Regions from separate parts of the Homo sapiens genome. Here region 1 is linked to region 2. The links are contacts of gene promoters, found by promoter capture Hi-C in human tissues and cell types (Jung and others, 2019). All regions are on one chromosome and are shown on one strand. Each heading gives the region's core, a stretch centred on a gene start or on the middle of the fragment in contact. The rest is flanking DNA. Distances are from core to core; before and after follow the strand shown. Region 1 overlaps TDRD9 (tudor domain containing 9). Region 2 holds the start of C14orf180 (chromosome 14 open reading frame 180).

What was found. The method cuts DNA at HindIII sites, captures the fragments that hold promoters and counts their contacts. A contact is called where the count stands out against the background at its distance.
Region 1: a contact is called between a fragment that was not itself captured here and the fragment with the promoter of C14orf180 in region 2, in 1 of the 25 tissues and cell types used here (lymphoblastoid cells).

What each region holds. Positions count from the first base shown.
Region 1 is chr14:104,052,229-104,054,928 of GRCh38, reverse strand. TDRD9 (tudor domain containing 9) reads right to left here. Exons shown (of 36, transcript NM_153046.3): 36 at 2,262-2,700. Among named protein-coding and RNA genes, the nearest start is that of ASPG, 32 kb to the left of the region's middle. The HindIII fragment of the contact is 8,720 bases long and covers 1-2,700 here.
Region 2 is chr14:104,578,511-104,581,210 of GRCh38, reverse strand. C14orf180 (chromosome 14 open reading frame 180) reads right to left here and starts at 1,447. Exons shown (of 5, transcript NM_001008404.3): 1 at 1,208-1,447. The HindIII fragment of the contact is 18,385 bases long and covers 1-2,700 here.

The DNA.
Region 1 (2,700 bases), core at 143-2,642, 530 kb after region 2:
TGGACTTAACTGTGCTGGTTTTGCACCCTATGCCCCATGCAGCAGCCAGAATAATCTTTCTCAAAACGTCATCAAGGCATGACACTCCCTTGTTCAAAACCCTCCAGGAGCTCCCCACCTCACTCAGAGTAAACCCCAAAACCTGCGTGTGGCCCACCTGGCCTGGCTGCTCTCCAGCCTGACCACCAGTACCCTCCACACTCTGTGCCAGCCGCACGGGCTGCCTGGTGGCTCCTCACACGCACCAGGCCTGCTGCCTCCTTGGAGCCTCACGCATCTCCTCCCAGCTATTCCAGTGCAGCCTGGGCCGGGCCTCTGCTTGAATGTCACATGGGAAAGGCTGTCCCCAGCTGCTTCTCTAAAGCAGTGTCACTCCCTGTACTTCCCCCCATCACAGGATCAGCAGCTAAGACCCAAGCTCAAGTCTGATGCCTGTTCTCATAAATCAGGTTTTGCGGGCACACAGCCCTGCTCGTTTGTTTATGGCTACTCCTGAGCTTCAACACAAAGCTGAACAGCAGCAGCAGCAACCACATGGCCCACAAAGCAAAAACAAGTGTGCACGCTCCTGTCCTGCCGCTTGACAGCTCTCACTCTGTCGCCTGACGCATTTGACCACCATCTGCCTCTACCCACTGCTCCCTGAGTGCAGTGAAACCTGGGCCACTTTGCTCGGAGTGGATCTTCAGCGTCCGTGACAGTGTGTGGAACACAGGGCGTGCTGACGGGATGCACCAGGATGAAACAACGACTGCCTCCGAGGAGCACTTGGGCTGGGCATGAAAGAGACTTCACTAGAGACCCTTTTCAAATGTCTTCATCTTATGTCATGGACATGTATTATTATACTAAGAACATTATTATGTATTTAAATATGAGGAGAATTTTGCAAACAAACAAGGCAAGTACCCTCTTAAGATAGATAAGGAAGGCAATGCAGTCGAAGTGCACCACTTGGTTTTACAGAAGATAATTTTCTTTGCTATCTACAAAATCCACGTTATAAAGCACAATGACTGACCTGGCCAGTGATATTGCTGTGACCGTGCGTAGAGATAGCAAAGGAGGTGCAGAACAGTGGGAAGGAGCCAATATTCATCTGCTGCTCAACAGCTGATGGCTAAGATGGCAACCATGAAAAAGCAGAACAAAAACATTCCTCAGCAAGATGAAAGCAATTCCAGAAAAATATAGGGAAGAGTTAGTATGGTTTCCTTTGAGAGTTGGGTGTTTTTGTTTTTAAACAAGCCTCTTGGTACTACTTAAATTTTTTTGTTTTTGTTTTTTGAGACAGAGTCTTGCCCTATTGCCCAGGATGTAGCGCAGGGGTACAATCACAGCTCACTGCAGCCTTGAACTCCTGGGCTCAGGCAATCCTCCCACCTCGGCCTCCCAAAGTGCTAGGATTACAAGTGTGAGCTACTGCACCTGGCCTAAATTTTTAGTCACTTACTAAAAGTCTGGTTAAAAAACGAACAGAATGAGTGCTTGACTGTTGTGAGTGTCCCCTACTGCTAAGGCCACACATTTGGTAACCTTGCCCACATGGACTAAGTACTCATAGGTCGGCAGAGCAAAGAGAAAAGCCAATCAAAGTGTCTGCTGCCCTCCCCGGAGGCTTTCTCAGAGGGCTTTCTGACGACGGGCAAAACCTTCACTTTAAAGCGGAACCAAGTTTTGGACGTGCTCAAAACCTTCCAAGAGCCCTCCATGTGTGCCAACTTGGTATGACCACTTACTCCCTAAGGCTGGGAAGCACATTCCCCAGAAGGCCAGGACAGTGGCCCAGTGACAGGGGTGCAGTGCTGCCCAGCCACCACAGCTGCTTGGTGGTCTTCCCGCTTGGCATCTGCCAGCTTCCCGCTGCTGGCCAGCGAACCCACAGAGGCCCAGCACAGCGCCAATGCTCCCCAAGATGTGACGGCTTCCAAGACCCCACACAAGCTCCCGTTTATGATCCCAAGTTGATGCCCATGCACACGCTTCTCCTGTTTCCTCACCATCTTCAAATTGTCCATCTGGGACAAGTCAGTTTAAGCAGAGCATTTCTCTGATCCTACAACTTCCCTCTCACGTGCGAGCTCACTGGCGTCTTTCACTGCTGTATTTACAACAGCTCTGTTCTTCTGACCAAACCCTGACTGATGTGAGTTGAGCTTTTAAAAGAGGTCTGTATCCCTGTATCAGTTGTACAATTTCAGATTTTTTGGAACTAAATACATCTTAATCTCCTCTGACTAAAAACTGTCAGAAACAGAAACTTCATTTAATGCTTTTATTGTTTTAACACAGATAAGCTATGGCCATGTAATCTGTAATCTCTGATTTCCAAAATGTGAACCAAGAAGTATAACTCAACTTAGTCTTATAAAAATTAGATATTTTCCCTCATGGAAAAAAAAATCAGAAAATACTACATGGTTTTTTTGTTTTTTTAAGTTTTTTCCTATACTACTGGTTTAAATCACTGTAACAGAACAGAATATGTAAGCACATTCTGGAACCTTACATCTAAGATTAACTACTTATATTTACCTTAATAAATTTAAAGCAAAATACAGCTCTTTATCCAAACAGACTTCTTTCAGAACAATCTTTCCAAAATATTTAATACAGTGATTTTCTGTTTCTAGAAAAGACTAGAGTTTCCAATCCTTCCCACCTGAACAAAAACACCACTCTCTGACTATCACCCAAAGA
Region 2 (2,700 bases), core at 198-2,697:
CACAGCCAGGCGGGGTGGCTGGGCTCCTGGGAAAAGCCTTGGCTCCCAGCCCAACGCTCACCACTGGAACCACGCTGGCAGCTCCCCAGACAACATGCGTTCTCGACTTAAGTAAGAGGGAGAACTTGTGGGGAGGCCCCTGGCTGGGCTGACCGCCCACTGGGCTTGCTCAGGTGCCTGCAGGCCCTACCAGGTAGGAACAGGAGCAGGAGCTGCCTGGTGGCCCCCTGAGGCCCCTCTCCATGCCTAGATGGGCCCTCACATCCCGAGGTGCAGTTAGGGCTCGAGGTAGCAGCAGTACCGGGTGATGGCTGCTCATCTGCTGGGTGCAGGGGCCACCCTAGGCCTCGAGAGCTCCAGACAGACAGGGCGGGGGACCCCCCCAGGCCCTTCCTCCCATATGTGGAATGGGGGCTGTTTGCCAACTGTCCAGGGCACTGCAAAGCTCAGTAGTGCCCAAGAAATGGCGTGGCGTCCAGTGCTGGGTGGGGGTCCCATGGCCACACAGGGCAGGACAGGGATTCCTTCTGACTGACGGCTCAGAAAAGAGCCAGTTCTCAGGGATTCCCAAACACTGAGAACTAGGCTTCAGTTACTGGAGTAACGAATCCATTCCTGCTAGGCTGGGCCTGCGTAGACTTGCCCTCGGAGGATGCCCCCCACCAAGGCCCTTCAGGGAAGGCTGGCTGGGTTCATGCCTGGCACGGCTGCCTGCATTCCCCTGAGAGTGCAGCCCCTTCTCCCACTGCCCAGGCTGTTTCGCGCAACATCAGGTGCCCTTTGGAAGCTCCTGTGTGGCCAGGAGCACCCCCGCTGCTAAGTTTGAAGTGGCCGTGTTCCCTGCTTCCCCCAGAGGCGGCCTGGCCTCAGTGTGGACACAGGGCCGGCCTGGGACTGTCTCCGTTTTAGGGAAACCATCAGTCCCAGGAGAAGGGGGAAGGGTGGCCACTCTGGAGCTTGTTCAGGTCACTCAGGATCATCAGTGTGTGCTCTGCCCAGTCTCTGCCCACACCTGCTGCCCAGCTGGGGCAGGTTCCCCACCTGCACCTGCCTTTGGCAATCTCTCCGCTCTGCCCAGTCTCTGCCCACACCTGCTGCCCAGCTGGGGCAGGTTCCCCACCTGCACCTGCCTTTGGCAATCTCTCCGCTCTGGCATCTTCATACCCAAGCAGGAAGTGAGCCCCCTCTCCCTGGGGCTGGAACTCACCTGGTTCCCTCCTGGCTCCCCGAGGGACAGAAACAGGCTCTTCGGGATCTCCCTGTGGGGCACAGTCCAGTGAGGTCCTGGACCCTCTTGGCCGGCAGCACCCCTCCCAGGCCCTTGAGAGTTGAGCCTCGGGCAGAACTGCAGGGCACACAGGTGAACGGGCCAGGCCCGCCCAGGCCTCCTTCCCGAGGGCTCTGATCTGGAGGCGCCACCGCCCGCTGGCAGGGCCGGGTCTGTTGTGGCCTTCGTCCCGTCTCCAGCCCTCTCTGCTGGATCGCAAAGCTGGGCCAGCTGGCAGCGGCCAGGCTATAATTACCTCTCCCCTTTGGCAGAAATAGCAGTGAACCCGAGGACAGGCCGCTGGCCCCGGAGCAGAAGGGGGTGGCTGTTTCCCAGGCCCCCGGTGGACAACAGACCATGATTTCAGATAAGACCAGAGTTTGCTGCTGTTCCTACCCCTCCCGGCCCAAATGTGCCCCCTCCCAGGTCAATTCCAGAGCTGTGCAGCTCTTGGAAAAACCTATGGATTGGAATTCGGGGCAGAGTGGGAGAGGGAGGGCACTGTGGGGCTGCGGGAGGTGAGGTGATCACAGAGTCCAGCCTCCAATAAGACCCTGACCCAGCATGGGGCCTCCGTGGTGGCGAGAGTGCCCGCCCTGCCCCAGGCCCCTGTGCCCCTGTGAGTCCTGACCTGGGGTTGCCAGAGGGAGAGGCAAAGAATGGGTCCCAAGCTGCCGTTTTGGGGCACACTGGCCGACCCTCGATATTGCCCTGGCAGGAAGGGGCAATGTATGGGTCAGTGAGCGATGGCAGGGGTGAGGGATCAGCCTTTCTCAGGGTCTGTCCTGGGTGGGCGTCCAACTGCCCTGCCTGGCGCTGCTGAGTCTGCCCCTCATTTGTAGGTGAAAGTGCAGCTCAGAGAGTTGAGGCACCCTGTCCAGAGTCACACAGCCCGGAGGTGGTAGCCTGGCTCAGGCTTGGTGGCCCGTCCTCGCCAGCCCCCCCGTCTGCTGGTGCATGTAAAGGCAGGTCTGAAAGAGGCTGGTGAGGGCATCACTGGCGCAGGGCACCACCACATGTGGGCAGACCCCTGCCTGGTTTGTGGGGCTTTGACCTGTTTCAGGGGACTGCTGGAGGAGGTGTGGAGAGACCCGTGTTTCTCCATTAGGAATGGGGGTGCATCTCCCTTGGGTAAAGCTACAGGACCCCTGGGAGCCCAGGGTGTGCCAGGCTGGGGGACAGTGTGCACAGAGGGTGACTGCTCAGGGCCAGCCGTGGGGCTGCATGGACACAGAGTCCTGGAACCCACCGTCAGAGCATGAGCAACGCAGCCACTGGGATGGGGTTCAGCAGACCGGCCCTCCCCTCACTGCCGTCTTCAGTACAGGGCATGGGGGAGCAAACTTTTCTCTTACAGGGCCATATGGCACACAGTGCGCTCTGTGTCTACACAAACGGGGTGGGCCAGATTGGCAGGAGGGCCTTGGCTCGCT